4 separate regions of the Homo sapiens genome follow, and all the other regions are linked to region 3. The links are contacts of gene promoters, found by promoter capture Hi-C in blood cells and fetal thymus (Javierre and others, 2016). All regions are on one chromosome and are shown on one strand. The core of a region is centred on a gene start or on the middle of the fragment in contact, and the rest is flanking DNA. Distances in the headings are between cores, read along the strand shown.

What was found. The method cuts DNA at HindIII sites, captures the fragments that hold promoters and counts their contacts. A CHiCAGO score of 5 or more calls a contact.
Region 1: a fragment that was not itself captured here is called in contact with the fragment with the promoter of C1orf122 in region 3 in 1 of 17 cell types (neutrophils); the score reaches 6.3 in neutrophils.
Region 2: the fragment with the promoter of RRAGC here is called in contact with the fragment with the promoter of C1orf122 in region 3 in 1 of 17 cell types (neutrophils); the score reaches 5.3 in neutrophils.
Region 4: a contact is called between a fragment that was not itself captured here and the fragment with the promoter of C1orf122 in region 3, in 2 of 17 cell types (fetal thymus and neutrophils). The highest score is 10.1, in fetal thymus.

The regions. Positions count from the first base shown.
Region 1 is chr1:38,842,177-38,844,876 of GRCh38, reverse strand. The region is part of intron 6 of RRAGC (Ras related GTP binding C); the gene reads left to right. Among named protein-coding and RNA genes, the nearest start is that of RRAGC, 16 kb to the left of the region's middle. The HindIII fragment of the contact is 4,730 bases long and covers 1-2,700 here.
Region 2 is chr1:38,858,483-38,861,182 of GRCh38, reverse strand. It overlaps RRAGC (Ras related GTP binding C), which reads left to right and starts at 1,411. Exons shown (of 7, transcript NM_022157.4): 1 at 1,411-1,773. The coding sequence starts at 1,537. RRAGC-DT (RRAGC divergent transcript) reads right to left here and starts at 1,290. Exons shown (of 2, transcript NR_186075.1): 1 at 944-1,290. RefSeq lists an enhancer at 1,192-1,486 and a silencer at 1,122-1,881. The HindIII fragment of the contact is 4,947 bases long and covers 1-2,700 here.
Region 3 is chr1:37,806,487-37,809,186 of GRCh38, reverse strand. C1orf122 (chromosome 1 open reading frame 122) reads right to left here and starts at 1,397. Exons shown (of 3, transcript NM_198446.3): 1 at 748-1,397; 2 at 455-656; 3 at 1-209. The coding sequence starts at 782. The coding sequence ends at 114. YRDC (yrdC N6-threonylcarbamoyltransferase domain containing) reads left to right here and starts at 979. Exons shown (of 5, transcript NM_024640.4): 1 at 979-1,395; 2 at 1,972-2,086; 3 at 2,211-2,330. The coding sequence starts at 1,007. RefSeq lists silencers at 340-889, 1,070-1,329. The HindIII fragment of the contact is 6,155 bases long and covers 1-2,700 here.
Region 4 is chr1:38,875,508-38,878,207 of GRCh38, reverse strand. GJA9 (gap junction protein alpha 9) reads left to right here. Exons shown (of 2, transcript NM_030772.5): 2 at 2,015-2,700. The coding sequence starts at 2,110. RRAGC-DT (RRAGC divergent transcript) reads right to left here. Exons shown (of 2, transcript NR_186075.1): 2 at 1,982-2,267. The region is part of intron 1 of GJA9-MYCBP (GJA9-MYCBP readthrough); the gene reads left to right. Among named protein-coding and RNA genes, the nearest start is that of MYCBP, 3.5 kb to the right of the region's middle. The HindIII fragment of the contact is 8,897 bases long and covers 1-2,700 here.

The DNA of each region.
Region 1 (2,700 bases), core at 42-2,541, 1.0 Mb before region 3:
CTTTTTTTCATATATTCGTTGGCTGCATAAATGTCTTCTTTTGAGAAGTGGCTGTTCATATCCTTTGCCCACTTTTTAATGGGGTTGTATTTTTCTTGTACATTTGTTTAAGTTCCTCGTAGATTCTGGATATTAGCCGTTTGTCAGATGGGTAGATTGTAAAAATATTCTCCCATTCTGTAGGTTGCCTGTTCACTCTGATGATAGAAACTAGACTTTTGGAAGTTACCAGGTTACCTCCTTCCTGCATTCAGTGGCCTTTTCTTACTCTGCAGGCTTTTCAATCTTCTAAGCATGTGATCTTGTCAGTCCCTCCTTTCTGAAAACTTTCTTCTCTCTTTGCTTCTCTGAAGCTGAATTCTTGGGATATTTTGTGTGTTTGTTTTCCCGACCACCTCTCCTGTTTCTTCTGTTTTTTTTTTTTTTTTCCTCAGTCCTGTTTGTCAGAGCCAAGTCTTTCTGCTTGCGTATTTTCTAGGTCAGCTCATCAAATACATGGCTTCAGTTAATCTTCTCTATGTGATTGAAAAATTCACATCTCCAGCTATGACTTGGGATCATGCTCTCGTCCCATGTTTGGAGCTATTAGTAAGACGTTCTCTCTTAAATATTGTGAATGTTACCTTCAACGTCATGTCAATCATTGGTTGATGAGTATTTCCCCTGTTTTGTGACTCTCGTGGCTGTCATACTTCTGTCACTAGTTACGCGAGTTTCTCCTGTCCAAGTGTAGATACCTTGTAGTTAGGTAATTGTGTGGTGTGATTGCTGAAGGGGCCCTTGCAGATTGGTTCACAGAGGAGATTTCGTGATCTCCTTTTTCTATTCTTCTATGTTGTTTATATTGAATTTTCACCAAATCTGATCATTTGTTTCTTGTAACTGTTACTTGGGTTTCCTTTCCATTTTCACTGTCAGTGATTCCACTCCAGGTTCTCATTGCTTCAGGCCAGTGGTGCTGCAGTAGTCTCTTACTTGATAATATTCATGTAGTTGACATATATGTGGAGGGTGTAGTATGTGTCATCTTTTATCCCAAAGGCAGATTAGTTTTCAGAAAATTTATTTTATATTATTTAACTACTCAAGGATCTACAGTAGCTCTGTTATTTACTGCAACAAGTCCTTCCTCTTCTACCTGAGTTTTTTTTTTTTTTTTGAGACAGTCTCGCTCTGTTGCCTAGGCTGGAGTGCAGTGGCGCAATCTCGGCTCACTGCAAGCTCCGCCTCCCGGGTTCACATCATTCTCCTGCCTCACCCTCCCGAGTAGCTGGGACTACACATGCCTGCCACCACGCCCGGCTACTTTTTTGTATTTTTAGTAGAGGCGGGGTTTCACTGCGTTAGCCAGGATGGTCTCAATCTCCTGACCTCGTGATCTGCCTGCCTCGGCCTCCCAAAGTGCTGGGATTGCAGGAGTGAGCCACTGCGCCCGGCCTGAATTTTTAATGGAATAGTTCAGATATACACAAATTTTTGGGTAAATCAAAACATGTATCTTCACCTTTCAGCTTAAGAACTAAAATGACAAATACAGTTAAAATCTTTTTTTTTTTTTAAGAGACAGAATCTTACTCCATTGCCCCAACATGATCATAATTCACTGTAGCCTCAAACTCGTGGGCTCAAGAGATCCTCCCACCTCAGCCTCCTGAGTAGCTGGGATTATAGGCTCATGCTACAGGATACTGGCTAATTTTAAAATATTTTGTAGAGATAGGATCTCTCTCTCTTGCCCAGACTGGTCTTGAACTCGTTGCCTCAAGCAGTCCTCTTCCTTCAGCCTTCCAAAGTGCCGGGATTATAGATGAGAGCCAACTGCCTGGCCAGCTGAAGTCTTCTGTGTGTTTTTCTCAATTGAAATCCCTTCCTTTGAGCTATGTGTATTTTATTTTTCTTATTTTTTCACTTCATGTCTATCCTTAAACAATAGAGTATTGTATAAATGATATAAAAATATAAGTAGTCTTCTGCAACTTGCTTGATTCTTTTCCTTCAGGTGGTTTTTGAGATTTATTCAGATTGATGACACGTAGTTCTAGTTCATTCCTTTTCGCTGCCATATAGTATTCTACAGGTTGACTATACCACATTTTATTTTCTTGTTGCTGGACATTTGGATTATTTTAAAAATTTCAAATCTGTAACAAATGCTCATGAACAAGTTTAAGTTTGCCTTTGCACGTGTGGAGAATTTCTCTAGGGTATGCCTTTAGGAGTGGAATTTATAGAGTACCTATATCTTTTGACTAATAAAGAGATTGCCAAACAGCTCTCCAAAGTGACTTTACTATTTTCATCCCTGGCTGGCACCGGTCTGTGGAAGTTCTTATCACTTCTTGTCCTTAATAATGCTTGGTATTGTTAGACTGTTTAATTATTGTCAATCTGGTAGGTGTGAAAGGGTATCTTATTTGATTCTCATTTTTACTTTTTAAATTACTGGTTAGAGCAAGTGTCTTTTCATGGCAAGTACCTTTTCATGGCTATTCAGGTTTCTTCTTTCACATTTTACCTGTTCCATATATATTTATCTTTTTTTGCACTGATTCTTAGCAGTTCCTTATTTTTCTCTATGTTAGTTTATTTGTTTATTTATTTTTTTGAGATAGAGTCTCGCTCTGTCACCCAGGCTGGAGTGCAGTGGTGCGATCTCGGCTCACTGCAAGCTCCGCCTCCCGGGTTCATGCCATTCTCCTG
Region 2 (2,700 bases), core at 162-2,661, 1.1 Mb before region 3:
AGGATGGTCTCGATCTCCTGACCTCATGATCCGCCCGCCTCTGCCTCCCAAAGTGCTGGGATTACAAGCGTGAGCCACCGCGCGGCCGGCTTTAACAATTTTTAAACAAAGGTTTACCACAGTGGAGTTGGCTGCCTTTCGAGATGGTGAGCTCTTTTACCTTCGAACTATTTAAGTGCATTCTGCATGTCTATTAGACACTATAGAGTTGGTTCGTTTTAGGTGAGAGGTTGGGCTAGATGACCTCTAAGGGTGTATCCTACCTCTAACTTCTGGGTTCAGACAAAACCAAAGTCCCAGACCTGCCCGCATGTGCGAATTTTTCCTTCATAATCAAGAAGTCAGTCTCCTTGGAGGGCTGGGAGCACCCCCACTCCTGTACTTTAAAAAGTGTATAGGGCTGTGCTTTAAGAGGATCCTCTTCTCAAACTTCCAGTTCTAGAGCCTGATTATCAAAAATAAAAATTCCTCTAGATTTCTCGGACATATTTGGTGACAAGCATTTGCTTTTGTTTGCTTTCATTATTCAATACTTTGGTCTCTAATCTGAACGAGGTCATAGAAGAGGCAGTGTTCTATGGGGGATGGAATTCCTAGAGTAGACTTTGACAAGGCGGGAAGGAGGGCAAATTGAGTCCCGTTGGGTTTGAAGTGGCAGCAGTATCCACTATCGGCGACTTACTGAAGAAAGAAGATAAGATGTTCTAGCTTGGCTGCATCTGCTTTCCCATCAGGGTCCAGCTACCTGCTAGAACAAACTATCACGGTGACCCATGACTCTGCCTTGGTTGAGGTTTGCCCTCAGTGTGGCTGGCTCCCCCATACCTTTGCACATCCCAATCTATCCATCCACCTAGATCTGCTCAGACGCTTTCTCATTCAACTCCCGAGCATTATTTATCCGTGACCTTCCCACATAATATTTCGTAGCGAGGTTACTTACGCAGAGGTCCGATCTCTCTGTTCATCTTCAAGCAACCTGAAGGCAGGCAGGGTCTGCGTCGGATCCAGTTCTGTGCCCCTTGGTAGGCACCCAGGACACTGCAGGCATCAATAAATATCGGTTGGGCAAGTACAGTTGCAGGATGAGGACAATCAATTCTTCCTCAAATGCCGGGAGAGCATCTCCATAGCGGTGCTCTGGGAGCCCGGAAGAAGGCAGGGGAGCGGTGCAGACAGCGTTGTATGCGGGCCGGGGCGGAGGGCTGAGGGCCCGAGCCGGGGCTAGAGGCGCGGCCGGGCCGCCCTCCTCGTGACTCCTCCTCCCCCCTCCGCGGCTCTGAGTCAGGTGATTCCGGCACGTGACGGGGCACCACCTACCCTGCTGCTCTCGAGTAGCAGCTCGGGCGGCCAATAAGCGGCTGGGCTTCGGCTCGGGGCCTATGAGAGCCGGGCTCCGGGGGGCGGGCCGGACTGTGGCGGCTGCCGGGGGCGGTGGCGGTGGTGGCGGCGGCGGCGGAGGCGGACTGGGGAGGCGGCGGCCTGGCTCGGCCTGGCCTGGCCTGTCAGGGCGCGGGCGGCGGCGGCTCCAGCACCATGTCCCTGCAGTACGGGGCGGAGGAGACGCCCCTCGCCGGCAGTTACGGCGCGGCCGATTCGTTTCCAAAGGACTTCGGCTACGGCGTGGAGGAGGAGGAAGAGGAGGCGGCGGCGGCGGGCGGAGGGGTTGGGGCAGGGGCAGGCGGTGGCTGTGGTCCGGGGGGCGCTGACAGCTCCAAGCCGAGGATTCTGCTCATGGGACTCCGGCGCAGCGGCAAGTCCTCCATCCAGAAGGTGAGCAGGGCTGCGCCCAGTCCCCCGCCCCCTCCCCGGTTCTCAGGTGGCCGGTAGCGGGGACGCCCGGGAGGGCGGCGGCCGGGGCCCGCCTGCGCTCCGTCCCTCCGCACTTTCTCTTCCACTCTTGCGAGCGCACAGGCGCGGCCCGCGCGGGGACCCCGACCTCTGTGTCCACGCCCAAGTCAGCTGAAGCCAAGTGGAGCGCTGAAGGCGAAACTGGTTGCCGGGAGGCAGGTGCCCGGTGGCACCGCCCAAGACCTCCGCCCCCTGGGACCCAGCTCCTGTGTCATTTACGAAACTGAGACGTACTCTCCAGTTCTCACTTGGAGAACTTCGTGGACTCCCTCCCCTGGCCCGTTTTGATTTGTTCTCACTTCAGGTGACCTGAGTGTTTCGGGATTCCCAGCAGAGCCCCAGGGAGCAGCGTCAGGAAGAGTTGTGACTAAGACACTGGGCGTTGTAATTCTCGCTACTGATGTGAAGGAGACTTCGCTGTAGCATTACTGGGAATTGGGTAGTGAGATTGCACCCATTTCAGTAGTTGTGGCCTGGTGAATGTAATTACTGGTGCTGTTCCCCCTGTAGGGGTGTGTTTTTAAAAATCTGAGACTTTGAGAATATTTTGCAGACCTAGTCTGTTTGTTTTCACTTTTGGGCCTTCATGAACAAATGGAGGGCTGTACACGTTTGTTTGTTTATGTTTTTGAGACGGAGTCTCTCGCTCTGTCGCCCAGGCTGGAGAATGCAGTGGTGCAATCTCGGCTCACTGCAACCTCCACCTCCCTGGTTCAAGTAATTCTCCCGCCTCAGCCTCCCGAATAGCTGGGATTACAGGCGCGCGCCACCACGCCCGGCTAATTATTGTATTTTTAGTAGAGACGGGGTTTCACCATGTTGGCCAGGGTCATCTCGAACTGCTGACCT
Region 3 (2,700 bases), core at 148-2,647:
CAAGTACCAGCCACTGCCAGTGAAGACTGGCCCCTTTACTGAAGGGAGTTGTTCAGAGTCCAGCCACCGGCCCTGGGGAGGGAGAGAAGTCAGGGTATTCTGCTCGGGGATGGTCAGGGCTCCGCAGCTCCATCGCCAGCATCCTTTGGAAAGCCGCCTCTGGCGGAGACAGCCGGCTGGGGGGGCGCTCCAGGTTTGGCTGAGACGTTCTAGTTGGAACAGAAAGGAAAAAAGTGAGGCTGGGAGGCAAGGCCTTGGATTAGGCCCCACAAGGATGTGGCCATTTGGCATTTGGATAGTATTAACTTTTTCGAAACCTCTCACCAGATCAAAGGAGGTTAGGGATAAAGCGGCGGAGACATACTTCCCCCCTCCAGGGTAAGCTAGGGCTTGGCCAGCCTAGCCAGTGGGCAGACCCCACCCCACCCCAGCCCAGCCCAGGGTGGGCACTAACCCCGCCACCAGCCGGCTCCGGGCGCCGGCGGCCCAGCTGCCGTAACATCTCCTCGCAGGCTGCGATGGTGTCCAGGAGCTGCCGCTGCCGCTGCTCCACCGCGTCCAGCAGCTGCTGGGCGCGCTCCTCCCGGGGCGGCTGTGGGGGTGGCCTCCCGCCGAGCCCCAGCCCCGCCTTCCCGCGGTCCACGCCGGCAGCCTCCCTGCCCGGGAGAGAGCGAGAGACAGACGGTCAGGGCCGGCGCTTGCGCGGGGCCAAGCCCCTTCCTCCCGCCCCGACGGGCCCCCTCTCACCCCCGTGACCAGTCTGAGCCCGGGCCCCATTCCATCTCCGCTTGCGCGGCCCGACCACCGCCCCCCTTTCGGCCGCCCCCCTCCCCAGCGCTGCGTTAGGGCTTCGCAAGGCTGCGCCCCGCCCCGTCCCCACCGGTCTCCTTCAATCCTCCTGGGGGTCGTGGTCCCTTTAAGCTGCCCGGCGCAGAGGCGGGGCCGAGTCTCCTGGACCGGAAGCTGGCTGGGAGCGTCACTTCCTCCCGGAAGCGGGCCTGGGCGGATGTCTCCGGCGCGTCGGTGCAGGGGGATGAGGGCCGCGGTGGCTGCCAGCGTGGGGTTGAGCGAGGGGCCTGCTGGCTCCCGGAGCGGTCGCCTCTTCCGCCCGCCGAGTCCCGCTCCGGCGGCCCCCGGCGCCCGGCTGTTGCGGCTCCCGGGGAGCGGGGCCGTGCAGGCCGCGAGCCCGGAGCGCGCCGGCTGGACCGAGGCGCTGCGGGCCGCCGTGGCCGAGCTGCGCGCCGGCGCCGTGGTGGCCGTCCCCACCGATACGCTGTACGGCCTGGCCTGCGCGGCGAGCTGCTCGGCGGCTCTGCGCGCTGTGTACCGCCTCAAGGGTCGCAGCGAGGCCAAGCCTCTGGCCGTATGCCTCGGCCGCGTGGCCGACGTCTACAGGTAAGGCCGCCCCGACCCGGCCCCGCTAGGGGCGGCACCGCGGGAGGGGTTTCCGGTGACAGGCTTGGGAGACTGAGGCGCAGAGAGCGGGAGGGGCTTGTCCAGGCTCACCAAGGAATCCGGAACTGGAAATATGTACCGAGGACTTAACGTGCCCCGGGCCCTGAACTACATGCTGCTGGGAAGCAGCAACACACGAGAAAGGCAGGGACCCTGTTCCCTTGGCGTATTTGTGCTAATTGGGGAGGCCCCCGGGAAAAAAGCAAACAAACACAGTAGCTTAATTTAATAGCGAATGCCTTGAAGAAAATAAAACGTGGAGCTTGATCCCACTATCATGATATCACAGCGGTGCAGCTGTTGTAGTCCCTGAGACCAGAGGCACATGGGCGTCAAGCCAGGGGTGCGCCTCTGGAGCCCTGCTTTCTGCTCAAGCTCTTAGGGAGGTGAAGCAGGGAGACAGGCGGCTCCCATTGTAAACTCGAAGGATTCCTTTTCTACGTCTGCCTAGAGTCTAGGAAAGGACCACCAGTGGCCCTTCAATTTTGAATGGATTTATTCTTCTGTGTTTCCCAGATACTGCCGTGTGAGAGTACCTGAGGGGCTCCTGAAAGACCTACTGCCAGGACCAGTGACCCTGGTGATGGAACGCTCGGAGGAGCTCAACAAGGACCTAAACCCTTTTACGCCTGTGAGTCAAGTTTTCTCTTGTGTCCCCAGACTCCAGGCCACTTGGCTTTCACTAGGATCCAGATAAGACTTACCCTCTTATCCCTTCCAACCTTTCTCATGATCCCTTTCCCCTTGCCTTACAGCTTGTAGGCATTCGGATTCCTGATCATGCTTTTATGCAAGACTTGGCTCAGATGTTTGAGGGTCCGCTTGCTCTCACTAGTGCCAACCTCAGCTCCCAGGCCAGTTCTCTGAATGTCGAGGTGAGTTTACCCAGTCCTTCCCCTGGAAATGTCACCAGCGCACATACTGTTTTCTGTGAATCAGTGGCATTGATAGTACACTGGGATGGCCAGGCATGAGAGTTCTTGGGCCAACAGTGGGAAGGTTGCCCAGCTGGCAGGGAGGTGGTGGGGGGCAATATAAATTAAAAAAATTTGAAAGATTTTATCTCAAAGTCTGAAAAGCCAGGGGGAGAATTGGTCTTTTCTTCAGTCTTTATAATAATAGGAAAGATTATAAGAACAATGTCTTCCTGTTTTTCTGGAGATAACAGTTTCTGGAGAACACAGTTAGGCTATAAATCTTCACGACAGTGCTGTAAAGAAAGATGAAGAAGGCCAAGGGCAGTGG
Region 4 (2,700 bases), core at 104-2,603, 1.1 Mb before region 3:
ACTTGGCAGGCTCAGGCACGAGAATCACTTGAACCTGGGAAGTGGAGGTTGCAGTGGGCTGAGATCCTGCCACTGCACTCTAGTCTGGGCAACAGAGTGAGACTCTGTCTCCCCCCACCAAAAAAAAAGAAAAAAAGTATACTTTTTCATAGTAAAGTATAATAAGTACTTTATACATATTCATAAATATTACTGAGATGAATTTCTGAAAATGTTCACCAATTGCCAGGAAGAAACCAGAATTTATTTCAAATTTATTTCAATTTGGATTAAAAAAACTAATCTAAATTCCTATGACAGCCAGATCTGTTTCCTCTGGTTTCACTGAATGCCATATCTTACTGAATTATCAAATGAAGCATATTCGTTTTCCTATGTGTATAAATGAGATTTAAAAATCACTGACTTTTTGACCGGGCACGGTGGCTCATGCCTGTAATCCTGGCACTTTGGGAGGCTGAGGCGGGTGGATCACGAGGTCAGGAGATCGAGATCATCCTGGCCAACATGGTGAAACCCCGTGTCTACTAAAATACAAAAAATTATCCCGGGGGGTGTTGGCAGGCGCCTGTAATCCCAGCTACTCAGGAGGATGAGGCAGGGGAATCGCTTGAACCCAGGAGGCGGAGGTTGCAATGCGCCGAGATTGCGCCACTGCACTCCAGCCTGGCGACAGAGCAAGACTCTGTCCCAAAAGAAAGAAAGAAAGAAAAAAAAATCACTGACTTTTCAAGCCAGTAATGGCATGTTGGGGAAAAAGAAATTGACTTTGTTATAACTTTTATATCAAATAATCTTAATAAATAAGGTTAAGATCAGGTTACTAGTTTTAGAAACCTTTCCAAAAGTTCTGTTGAAAAACAACAATAGGCTGGGCATGGTGGCTCACGCCTGTAATCCCAGCACTTTGGGAGGCCGAGGTGGGCAGATCACCTGAGGTCAGGAGTTCGAGACCAGCCTGGCCAACATGGAGAAACATCATCTCTACTAAAAATACAAAATTATCCGGGCATGGTGGTGCATGCCTGTAATCACAGCTACTCAGGAGGCTGAGGCAGGAGAATCGCTTGAACCCAGGAGGTGGAGGTTGCGGTGAGCTGAGATCATGCCATTGCACTCCAGCCTGGGCTACAGAGTGAGACTCCGTCTCAAAAAAAAAAAAAAAAAGAATATAATTTTAGGCCATGCGCATTGGCTCATGCCTGTAATCCCAGCACTTTGGGAGGCCGAGGTGGCCAGATCATCTGAGGTCAAGGGTTTGATCTCAGCTCACTGCAACCTCTGCCTTCCAGGTTCAAGCGATTCTCTTGCCTCAGCCTCCCGAGTAGCTGGGACTACAAGCGCCTGCCACCACGCCTGGCTAATTTTTGTATTTTTAGTAGAGGCGGGGTTTTACCATGTTGGCCAGGCTGGTCTGGAACTCCTGACCTCAAATGATCCACCCACCTTGGCCTCCCAAAGTGTTGGGATTACAGGTGTGAGCCACCCCGCCCAGCCTATATTCTTAATAGAGAATATATACACTCCTCCTCCAGGTATCATGTTTTTTTCATTGTATTGTGATGTCTAAATATAAGTGATTTTAAATTCCTGACATTTAAGTATATTATTGGTAACAGATTCACACTTTGGCCAGGTGTGGTGACCCACACCTGTAATTCCCACACTTTGGGAGGTGAAGGCAAGAGGATCACTTGAGTCTAGGAGTTTAAGACTAGCTGCAGCAATAGAGTGAGACCCTGTCTCTACAAAAAAATAAAAAAAATTATCTGGGTGTAGTTGCACACACCTGCAGTCCCAGCTACTCAGGAGGCTGAGAGGGGAGATGATCGCTTGAGTCTGGGAGGTTGAGGCTGCAGGGAGTTGTGGTTGCAACACTGTACTCCAGCCTGGGCAACAGAGGGAGACTCTGTCTCAACAAACAAACAAACAAAGAAAAAACCCCACAGCTATCTAGGGAAAAAGTAAAGCAACCAGCATATAGAAGTGACATATTGTTATATTTTCACCATAGGTTTGCTTTAAGAAATAGTGCTCCCTTCAGAATGGAAGAATTTATCTGCCTCTTATTTGATGTGGATCAGAGCTAAGATGGCTGACTAAATAAACATGGGGGACTGGAATCTCCTTGGAGATACTCTGGAGGAAGTTCACATCCACTCCACCATGATTGGAAAGATCTGGCTCACCATCCTGTTCATATTTCGAATGCTTGTTCTGGGTGTAGCAGCTGAAGATGTCTGGAATGATGAGCAGTCTGGCTTCATCTGCAATACAGAACAACCAGGCTGCAGAAATGTATGCTACGACCAGGCCTTTCCTATCTCCCTCATTAGATACTGGGTTCTGCAGGTGATATTTGTGTCTTCACCATCCCTGGTCTACATGGGCCATGCATTGTACCGACTGAGAGTTCTTGAGGAAGAGAGGCAAAGGATGAAAGCTCAGTTAAGAGTAGAACTGGAGGAGGTAGAGTTTGAAATGCCTAGGGATCGGAGGAGATTGGAGCAAGAGCTTTGTCAGCTGGAGAAAAGGAAACTAAATAAAGCTCCACTCAGAGGAACCTTGCTTTGCACTTATGTGATACACATTTTCACTCGCTCTGTGGTTGAAGTTGGATTCATGATTGGACAGTACCTTTTATATGGATTTCACTTAGAGCCGCTATTTAAGTGCCATGGCCACCCGTGTCCAAATATA